Linked DNA regions of Homo sapiens: all the other regions are linked to region 3. The links are contacts of gene promoters, found by promoter capture Hi-C in blood cells and fetal thymus (Javierre and others, 2016). All regions are on one chromosome and are shown on one strand. The core of a region is centred on a gene start or on the middle of the fragment in contact, and the rest is flanking DNA. Distances in the headings are between cores, read along the strand shown. Region 1 overlaps MCTP1 (multiple C2 and transmembrane domain containing 1). Region 2 overlaps SLF1 (SMC5/6 complex localization factor 1). Region 3 holds the start of NR2F1-AS1 (NR2F1 regulatory antisense RNA 1).

The links. Contacts are between HindIII fragments. The CHiCAGO score rates a contact against its expected background, and 5 or more counts as called.
Region 1: a contact is called between a fragment that was not itself captured here and the fragment with the promoter of NR2F1-AS1 in region 3, in 10 of 17 cell types (total B cells, total CD4 T cells, fetal thymus and 7 more). The highest score is 10.6, in total B cells.
Region 2: a contact is called between a fragment that was not itself captured here and the fragment with the promoter of NR2F1-AS1 in region 3, in 1 of 17 cell types (total B cells). The highest score is 6.8, in total B cells.

Annotation. Positions count from the first base shown.
Region 1 is chr5:94,733,776-94,737,598 of GRCh38, forward strand. All of the region lies in intron 19 of MCTP1 (multiple C2 and transmembrane domain containing 1), which reads right to left. Among named protein-coding and RNA genes, the nearest start is that of SLF1, 120 kb to the left of the region's middle. The HindIII fragment of the contact is 2,507 bases long and covers 1,095-3,601 here.
Region 2 is chr5:94,628,160-94,631,599 of GRCh38, forward strand. SLF1 (SMC5/6 complex localization factor 1) reads left to right here. Exons shown (of 21, transcript NM_032290.4): 2 at 652-765; 3 at 933-1,008; 4 at 2,344-2,584. The coding sequence starts at 652. Among named protein-coding and RNA genes, the nearest start is that of SLF1, 11 kb to the left of the region's middle. The HindIII fragment of the contact is 713 bases long and covers 1,306-2,018 here.
Region 3 is chr5:93,579,968-93,583,546 of GRCh38, forward strand. NR2F1-AS1 (NR2F1 regulatory antisense RNA 1) reads right to left here and starts at 1,252. Exons shown (of 8, transcript NR_186187.1): 1 at 1,175-1,252. It overlaps NR2F1 (nuclear receptor subfamily 2 group F member 1), which reads left to right and starts at 3,255. Exons shown (of 3, transcript NM_005654.6): 1 at 3,255-3,579. RefSeq lists an enhancer at 1,428-1,527 and a silencer at 1,648-1,697. The HindIII fragment of the contact is 7,751 bases long and covers 1-3,579 here.

The DNA of each region.
Region 1 (3,823 bases), core at 1,098-3,597, 1.2 Mb after region 3:
CAATATGGTGAAACCCCGTCTCTACTAAAAATACAAAAATTAGCCGGGCGTGGTGGCGGGCACCTGTAGTCCCAGCTACCCGGGAGGCTGAGGCAGGAGAATTGCTTGAACCCGGGAGGCAGAGGTTGCAGTGAGCCCAGATCGTGCCACTGTACTCCAGCCTAGGCAACATAGCAAGACTCTGTCTGAAAAAAAAAAAAAGAAAAGAAAAGAAAAAGGAAAATACCTCAATGCTTATACAACTCTGTTCAATCAAATAACCCCAATTCTAGTTCTGTGATCTCTCAAACGTGTAGAGTGATATTGTAATTAACATTGAAATTATCCCTTCATGTACCTCCAATGCGCACTAAATGTACCAGCTGCCACTTACATACCACCACCACCATCCTTTCCAGAATTTCTGTAAGCACTGCTGATCAAACGCAAACACTCACTGGTACTAATTAAAATAGCTGTTCATTCCTCTGTAGACAGACATGGCATGAAAATCATTAATATTTTTTAGGATGCAGTCTTATAACATGTATTGTACTTCTTTCCAATCTATTGTGGAAAACTTGGAAAATAAACACAAACATAGAGTAAAAAAAACTCTGGTAAACATTATTAACATTTTAGGGTATATCTTTCTAGTATCTTTTCCACTTATTAATCTTTGTGTTACTGTTAATCATGTGGTTACTATGTGTCAAACACTGTGTCAGATGATGGGATTCAATGAAGAAGTCAGGCCTGATCTGGAATCTGTTATATTGAACATATACATTTGTTGGGCCTAAAGTAATCCTCCCACTTCAGCCTCCCAAGTAGCTGGGACTATAGGCTGTGCCACTACACCTGGCGAATTTTTGTACATTTTGGAGAGATAGGATCTCACTATTTTGTCCAGGTAGGTCTTAGACTCCCGGCCTAAAGCAATCCTCCCACCTCGGCCTCCCAAAGTGCTGGGATTACAGATGTGAGTGAGGCATCATGCCTAGTCTCTTTCTTTCATTTTTAAGGCACAAATAGTAGCATATGATAAATATTTCCATGCTTTTTTTTCTTATTTAACCATGTTTCTTAGAGATTGTTCCATATCAGTGTTGAAAAGCTTCCTCATTCTTCCAGCTTCATCATGACCTATGGTATTGATGTACCATTATTTATTTAATCCGTTTTCCCTTAATAGATGTTTAGGTTCTTTATCAGTTTTTTGCTACCACAAAAAAAGTAGTAGCAAAGAACACCTTGTCTATGTGATAATTGACCTGTGTGAGTGTATCTGTAGTATAAACTTCTACTACAAGAAGTGGAATTGTTTGGCCAAAGGATTTGTGTTTTTGTAATTTTGGTACTTACTGCCAAATCGCCTTCCAAAAGAGATTGTACAGTTTCCACTCCCACCAGGAGGACACGGAGTTACCCATTTCCTTGCCAGGCCGTGTCACAGACATGCCTTCTCTTTTCCATGTATTTTCAAGACTACTTGGAGACCCAGACTAGTTGCTGTGGGGGCTCCATAGTGTCACTTTTTACACTTTTAACCACATTATTTGTCTACATTTTTGGTTTTTGTTTTTGAGACAGGGTCTCAAAATAGTTTCAACCTCCTGGCTCAAGCAATCCTCCCATCTCAGCCTCTCAAGTAGCTGAGACTACAGGCGTACACCGCCATGCCTGGTTAATTTTTTTTTTAAATAGAGACAGGGTCTTTCCATGATGCCCAGGCTGGTCTTGAACTTCCAGGCTCAAGAGATCTCCTTATCTCAGCCTCCTAAAGCGCTGGGATTATAGGCATGAGCCACTGTGTTGGGCCTACATTATGTTTCAGATTAAGTGATATTCATTTTGATTTACAGGATAGAGTACATAATATACATAAGAGAACAGTTTCACTCTATATAAATAGCCAAACCAGTTGAGTATTTTCCAGTAATAGGAAGGTCATGAATAACTTCTAAACTACTGATAGACTAAGTATAATTTTTCTTAAGTGCCAATTTCCACCAAAATTGCTACACTAAAAGAGACTTTAAAATATATCTGTGCATTATATCTAAGGTATCTAACTCGACAGTATGTTCAAATAAATGTGTCTATTTTATTCCTTTGGATGGGTTATCAAGCAGGGAAGTCAACACAGTAGTAGAGAAAGGCAGTACAGCAATTGGGTAAAGTACACAGGCTATAGAGCCAATCACCTTGGGTTTGGACAGACCTTGGTTTCAACCCACTACCCCTGGTTTTGGACCTTGCTAACCATTATGTATGTCCATGTGTACCTTACTTATTCCATTCAAACTTCAGCTTCTTTATCTCTAAAAGATGATTAGTAATACTTGGTTATTTGAAAGATTCAATTATACACAATAAATGGCCACCTCAACCACCACTATCACTTACAATATTGCTATGGTAGCACAGTCCCAAATTCAAATATTTGATCTTCTGGGTGCAGTGGCTCATGCCTGTAATCCCAGCACTTTGGGAGGCTGAGGCAGGAGGATTGCTTAAGCTCAGGAATTTGAGACCAGCCTGGGCAACATAGTGAGAACCTGTCTGTATGAAAAAAAACTAGCTGGGCTTGGGGTGCATGCCTCTGGTCCCAACCACTCGGGAGGCTGAGGTGGGGGAATCACTTGAGCCTGGGAGGTCGAGGCTGCAGTGAGGCGAAATTGTGCCACTGCACTCCAGCCTGGGTGACAGAGCAAGACCCTGTCTCAAAAAAAAATTTTTTTGGGGGGGATCCTTTTGTGATATGCATTCCCATGTTTATATAGATAAATAAAGGCAATGTAAATATAGATTAACCCTGAGAACTTAGTGTAACCAAAATCACAATCTTGAATTAACCTTGAAAGATTAATACCAAAATGCCAGCCTCTTTCACACATACATACACACACACCCTTGCATGCATATTTTAAATGAGAGACTGCAAGAAACACAGAGTCCATGAAGATCTCTGTGTGAACTCCTTCTGAGTCATTTTCAGGAGGTAATAGAGGTAAATTCTGATTACTTAACTGGCAAAAATACACTACGTAGTTGTATTTGATTTACTGAGATAACATGGAGAGGTCACTGCATTATTTTTTAACTTGCAGAAAAAGTTCATTAACTCATTGAGAGTCTACTCTGTACTTGGTACCATGCCAGGCATAGGATAGAGAGCTAATCCCAACAGACATGGAGACCCTGACTTCATGATGCTTATAGTCAAGTGAAATTTTTCTTTTCTTTGGAGACAGGATCTTGCTCTTTTAACTCAGGCTGCAGTGCCGTGGCAATGATCATGACTCACCACAGCCCTGACCTCCTGGGCTGAAGCGAACCTCCTGCCTTAGCCTCTGGAGTACCTGGGACCAAGGCATGTACCACCACATCCAGCTAATTTTTAAATTTTTTTGTAGAGAAAGAATCTCACTATGTTTTCCAGGCTGAGGTAGAATATTTTTATCTCAGAGGAGGAGGGAGGGAGGGAGGGAAACAGTGCAAGTAATATGCTTTTGCTGGGCCTCCTGGTGATAGCAGAAACACTGCCAGATAATGGTAGTATCTAACATATTGGGGCACACATCTAAGTAGAAGAGATAGGCTCTAACCCAGAGCAGTAAGCTTAGATATTAGAATAAAGCATAATTTCAAATTCTAAGCACCCAAATAGTTTGATGTCATTTATTACCAAAAATTCTTGTCACTGTTTGAATACTAAATAGGGATGTTTCTTGAGTGAGTACTGAATAGAAAAAATTAAAATAGGGAGTCCTGTAGTTTTGTTTCAATAACTCCAATTTATACAGGTTCTTAAATATTTGCAATAACCATTACTGAGGAA
Region 2 (3,440 bases), core at 412-2,911, 1.0 Mb after region 3:
TTTTGAGATGGAGTCTTGCTCTGTCACCCAGGCTGGAGTGCAGTGGCATGATCTTGGCTCACTGCAACCACTGCGTCCAGGGTTCAAGCAATTCTCCTGTCTCAGCCTCCTGAGTATTACAGGCACCTGCCACCACACCTGGCTAATTTTTATATTTTTAGTAGAGGCAGGGTTTCACCATGTTGGCCAGGCTGGTCTAGATTTCCTGACCTCGTGATCCGCCGGCCTCGGCCTCCCAAAGTGCTGGGATTACAGGCGTGAGCCACTGCACCCAGCCCAACAATACTTTTTAAATGAAGCTTGTATAACATTATTATGCCAGTATTTGTATAACATTCTATCATTTTCTGAAGAAGTATATTTATTCATCAATGTGTTTTAGTGTCAAGTAATGTATTAATCCAGACTTTCAATGTTCAAATCAGAAAGAAAACCCTCACTTAAGGCCACATTTTGAGAAGATAACTTTTAAAACTAGTTTCTATCGTATATAAGTAATTTTAATATTGTTTTAACAGCTGTGCCTAACATCTTTAATTCATTGTATGTTTAATAGTTTATTTTTAGTACTCATAGTTAAGAAAAAATAATGTCAACCCTGTGAATAATATCTTTAACACACATTATCTTCTGTATGTTTGTATTTGTTAGATGGAAGATGGTACCCCAAAGCATATCATCCAGATGACAGGATTTAAGATGGAAGAAAAAGAAGCGCTAGTCAAATTACTTTTAAAACTAGATTGCACTTTTATTAAGAGTGAGGTAAGAAACTTATCAAAATGTTCAAGATATATTTGAAAAATAACTACAATTCAAATACTGGCCTAAGAATGATAAAATGCCTTCTTGATATTGTAGCAATAAAAAGGATGTGTCATAAAGGGAGTCTTACTTTAGTAACATTTCTTGATGTGGATTTTTCCCTCCAGAAATACAAAAATTGTACACATCTTATAGCTGAACGCCTATGTAAGAGTGAAAAATTTTTAGCAGCTTGTGCGGCAGGTAAGTTAACTGTCTTCCCCCAACTTTTAAAAACAATCTTCGTGTTAAAGCAAAAGTATTTTAGTCTCTGGAGAGATAGCATATTTACATATCAAACCTAAATGTGTTTTTCTGATATTTTTTGAAAATATTTAATATATTTTTTGGCTTATTACTCTTCTAAGTAAAATTTTGTAACACATGAAAAATGTATTAAATAGGCAGAAATATTTACCTCAACAAGGATTTAGTGTGTTTTGTTTAAGACAAAAAAAAAATACATTAATGAAAAGACTGGCACAAAATGTCAAAATCTTAAGCTTTTGTTAAAGTCTCAGCTGTTTTCAGTCAAGTTTTCTTTGATCTGTCATTTGATACAGGCAGTGCTTTTGTTCTCTCTGCTGCTTCTATCCATATTATGAAGCAATGGTCATACTATTTTATTTTTCTAAGATATTAAATACTATAGACCCAAATTAAGACTTAGTCTTCTCCTCTATCGTTTTGTATTTTATAGCTTTCTCTGCTGTGATTGATCTGACATATCATTAGTCTACTGATTGCAAAAAAAGAAGCATATGTAACTTGGGTGAATTTATCCTTTTTGGATTAACTTACAAGGAAAACACTTGCATTCGTTTTTAACTTTACAAATGAAAACATACATTGTCCATAATGTTCAAAAAGATCATTGATGCCCAGATAAAGAAACTGTTGGTCGGGTGTGGAGGCTCATGCCTGTAATCCTAGCACTTTGGGAGGCCAAGGCAAAAGGATCACTTGTGCCAAGGAGTTTAAGACCAGCCTGGGCAACGTAGCGAGATCTCATCTCTTAAGAAAAAAAAAAGAGTTGTTATAAAATGACCTGAAAAATTCTTTAACTCAGTAAATTTGTTTTACAGAGTAATAATGCCGTGAACAATATTGGAAAAGCTGTTAGCATAGGAGGAAGAATATAAATCTAACCCAAAATAGTGAATAATGATAGTAATAATAATTCCAGTAATACCACATTTTATTTTGGATTTTAAAGCTTTAGATTTATGTTTAGAATTATAAAATTGTAATTTAGAATTATATTTAAATGAAACTGTAATTATAACTAAGTTATAGCTATGGAATTATATTTAGAATTATAATTATTTGTCATGGAAAAGATTACATACAATGTTCAGTGATATTGTAAGCCTCTTACTATCAGAAAATTTCCCCAAAATGCATAGTTCAAAGATAATGTTAGCAGCATAGCTTAAGAGTCTTATCTTGAAAAAGGTTGACTTTTATATTTGATCTTTATTGTTTATCATTTATCAGAACCAAAATTCCTTTGTGACTGACAGCTCATTTGCTTTCTAGGAAAGTGGATACTAACCAAGGACTATATAATTCATAGTGCCAAAAGTGGCAGATGGCTTGATGAAACAACTTATGAATGGGGATATAAAATTGAAAAAGATTCCCGTTATTCACCTCAAATGCAATCTGCACCTAAAAGATGGCGTGAAGAACTGAAACGCACTGGTGCTCCAGGAGCCTTCCACAGATGGAAAGTTGTCCTCCTTGTTAGAACTGATAAGCGAAGTGATTCTCTTATAAGGTAGGATGTGATTACATAAAAGCTAAAGCAATTAATGAGAAAATAATTTTGATTTGCATGAGTACTTTCTGTATTTTTTTGCAATTATTAGCCCAAATGAGCCATGGTGATTTACTCCAATCTCCTAGGTAAGCCATTATGCTCGTTTAGACTTATGTGTCTTTAATAGAACAAAATCTACTTTACAATATTGTTTTAGATTATTCTGGATATCTCTATTTTACTTTCCATGTTATTCCTTTTGGCCAACTCAAGCAAAACAAAAAAGGAAAACTAATTGGGAGTTTTTTGTTTCTAGTTATGAAGCACTTTTAGACTTTTGGTATTATCACAAAAGCATCATTCTGGGTTTATGTAGTGCTGTCTTCATTATTCATACTGTTTTCATCATAATTTTATTTCATTTTGTCCTTGGTATATTTTTAAAAGCTTTTTTATTGGGTAAACTGTATTCTAAGACTGCTGTTACTTTTTTTTTTATGGCAAGAGGGTGGGGAGTGTTTTTGTCTCTTAGTTAAATGTAATTTATAATCAATAACATGCACACAAATTAAGGGTATATTTTGATGAGTTTGGACAAATTGATGCACCCATGTTACCCTCACTATAATCAAGATCTGTTACATGTACATTATCCTATAATGTTCTCTTGTGTCCTTGAACATTTAGTTCTGTACCACCAACACCAGGCAACCACTAATTTCCTTTTTATCACTATAGACTAGATGTATACTTTTTAAGAGGTCCTTATGAATGGGATCATACTTAAATACTGCTTTGATATAGCTTCATTTCTCTAGTACAGTATTATTAAGATTCATCCATTTTGTGTATACCAGCAGTTCATTCCTTTTTG
Region 3 (3,579 bases), core at 2-2,501:
CGCAGGTGGGCGGCTGCAGCCAAGCTCGCCAGGTTCAGGCCGTAACCAGGCAAGGCGCGGGCACAAGGGCCAGCCGGGCCGGACTCTGCAGCCGGCTCCACCGCGGGTCGCGCTCGGCACCAGCAGGAACAGCCGGGCCGGTGTTAAACGTGCGGGTCCCCGTCCTCCGCCCGGGCATCCGTTTCCCGCCTAGGAGAGAGAGGGAATAGCGGGTGGGGGTGGGAGCAGCCTGTTTTGAATGTGGATTGCTGCTCGCCTGGCACGATCCTCCCCTCCAAGGAGGCGCGGCGGCCGCGATCCTCGCCTTAGCGCTACGGCGAGACAGAGGCCGAGCGAGGGCAACTCCCGAGCAGGCCCCGAAGAAAGTTCTCCTCGTCCCGCCCTGGCTGCCTAGACTCTGCTCTCGGCCTGCGGAGGCCGTGCGAGCCAAGACTGCCTCCCGGCCCTGCCCGTTACCAACCCCAAGTTCAAGAGAAACGACAACCATTATGTTACTTGCCTGGTGAGGCAGGATTTGGCCGAGTCTCGTTTCTGGTGCCCACGACGCACGGTCCAGGGTCCGAGGGCGGCTGGGCCGGCGGACTGGGCATCCAGTGTGCCTGCGGTGCCCTGGCGCTCGCTGTCGCTGGTCTCCCACTCCCTTCGTCTCTCTCCGCGTTCTCCTTCCCTCGCCCTATCTCCCTCTCTCCGCCTGCTGCCTCTGCCCTCGACTCCCTGCCTCTGACTGTATGGGGAGTACGATTTAGAATCTGTACATAGAAAGGTTTTCTTTTCTTTCTTTTCTTTTGGTCTATTTTAATCGTGTTCGTTTCACCTTTTAACTGACCAGAAGACGGGAGCGCGTTTGCGCGTTTATTTGGGCATAGGGACGAGGGCAAGGAGCCCCTGCTACCCCCAGTCGCCTCCTCGCCATCAGCTGCGTACAATGGGCCACCGCTCGCGGAGTGCATTGACAGTTCTCCATTATTCGAGCTGGAGGGGCTGTGGGGCAGGCACGGGAAAACCTTTTATTCTGCTCTTTAAAATCATCGCTCGTCACTAAGCGGTCGCCGACTCCCGACTTGTAGGCTGGAGAGACCAGGAAGCGCAAAACGTCCCCCAAACACGCAGTGCTTCCCAAACCCCTCCCTGGTGAGACTTAAAGTGAGAACGAGTATTAAAAAACAAACCCTACCTCTGTCAATACAGCGTGGCCATTTACTTCCACCTTTACCTGAGGGCGTGTTGGCGCTAGGAATGCTCGAGCTGAGACAAACTTTTACGCCCTCGCGAGTCGAGGGGCGGGCGGGCGAGCGCGGCTCCCACCCCCGGCGGCGGCAGCGGCGGCTTTGTCACTCCGCGCGGCTCCGCGCCCGCCTGAGCCTGCCTAGGGGAGCGATCTCAAAACGAGGGGGGTGCGAGTATGCGATTGGAGAATATGTAACTAATAGAAGTATCATTTTCCCCCAGTACGATCTTTCAAGGAAAAAAAAATCCATTGAAAGAATTTTCAAAGTGCTGTCTTCGTTTGGAGAAAAGGCACAGGCTGCCTGCGGGGAGGGGAGGAGGGACTCGGCTGTGTGCCGCCCGGGAGCGGCTCCCGTCCGCTAGGTGGCAGCCGGAGCCAGCGATTCCTGCAAGCCCCGCCGCGGGACCCGCTCCTCCCGCCTGCCCCTCCTCCCGCGACCAATCACCTTCAGGATTCAGGAATCGGGGTCTCGGTCTCTCTCTCTCTCTCTCTCTCTCTCTCTCTCTCTCTCTCTCTCTCTCTCTCTCTCTCTCTCTCTCCCCCTCTCCCTCTCCCTCTCCCTCTCCTCTCTCCCTCTCCCTCTCCCTCTCCCTCTCCCTCTCCCTCTCCCTCTCCCTCTCGTCTCTCTCTCTCTCTCTCTCCTCTCTCTCTCTCTCTCCTCTCTCTCTCTCTCCTCTCTCCTCTCTCTCTCGGTCTCTCTCTCTCTCTCTGGGTCTCTCTCTCTCTCTCTCTCTCTGGGTCTCTCTCTCTCTCCTCTCTCTCTGGGTCTCTCTCTCTCTCCTCTCTCTCTCTCTCCCCTCTCCTCTCTTCTCTCTCTCTCTCTCTCAATATCTCGCGCGCTCTCCTCTCTCCTCTCTTTCCTTTCCTCTCCTCTCTCTCTGTCTCTCTCTCTCCTCCTCCCCCTTTTCTCTCTCCCTCTCCGCCTCCCCCCCTCTCCATCTTCTCGTTTGTTTGCTCTTTTCCCGGGACTGACTTGGCCACACTAATCTCCCCCCACCCTGCAACAATATGGGGACTTACTACTGTTTTATTAATAATGATTGAAGCATTGTTGGAGTTTGGAACAGCCAGGTGATAAAAAAAAAAAAAAAGAAGAAGGAAAAATTGGATTGATTGGAAAGTTTATTTTTAAAATCATCTTTGGGATAAATAGGAACCCTTGATTCCGATCGAATTTGTGGCAATAGCTGCAAATTCCAGGAGTGTGCTTTGTCATCATTAAACCTTTTAAACCAAGGTATACTTTGGATTAAAAAATAGGGAGATCCTACCCTGTTTCTACTTGTTTCTAAAAAGGATATAAAATGAGCAGAATCCAGACTTGGATTGTGCTTATATGTGAGAGAAGAAAACAATCCAAATCCAGTATATTTCACAAATCATTAAAATGGTGGGGGTTTCATTCCCATTAAAAATTTTTCCAAACATTTTCAATGACACTCTCTTCACGCTCATAAAATCTAATTTTAAAAACTTTTCAGAAGAAATCAAAATAATTTCCCTCTAATTCTCCTTTTGCCCATCGCTAGGCGTTCTCCCCCTCGTCATCCCTTCCCCCTCTGGGGTGTGAGCGTAAGTGTGTGTGTGTGTATGTGTGTGTGTGTGTGACCATAGACGACCCATACTAATCAGGTCTCAGAGTAAATAGCAGCGCAGGGCGATCTCAATGTAAATTGCGCTTGTCAGAAACACACCCCCCTCCCTCACTTTCTCTCCTCCTCCCCACACCATCCCAGTCTGTAGGTAGCTAAGCGGGGGGGGGAGAAAGAAAGCAAAAGAGGAGGGGGGAGGGGCTCTCCAACCAATGGCGTGCAGGAGGCTTGGCTAACCTTAGCCTCCCATTTTCTCTCCCCCCGATTCAGGGCTCTGACCAGTCAGTCGCCTTTGATTATCAGTTGCCAGCAGCCCTTCTCTTGGCTCCTTGACACGAGCTCCATATAAGGCAGCGATCTCCATAGAAACGTGTCAGTTTCAATAGTAGTGTCAAAGTTCACTATATACAGACATTCGCGCAGATCCCCCTTTCGGAAACATTGCTCTGCGAGTCCTCCCGTTTAAACGCATTCAATTTTTGGGTCTCTCTCTCTCTCTCTCTCTCTCTTCTTCTCTTCTCTCTCTCTCTCTCTCTCCTCTCTCTCTCTCCTCTTTCTCCCCCCTCTCTCCCTCCTCTCCTCTCTCTCTCCTCTCTTCTCTGAACCTCTCTTCTCTTTCTCTTTTCTTACATATTCTACTAGTTGTTTTCCCCTTCTTCTTCTCCTTTCTCTCCTTTTTCTCCCTCCTCCTTGTCTCTTTTACTCCATTCCTGCAGAAGAGAGAGGGCTAAACTTAAAGAAAAAAAAAAGGAGGAGGAG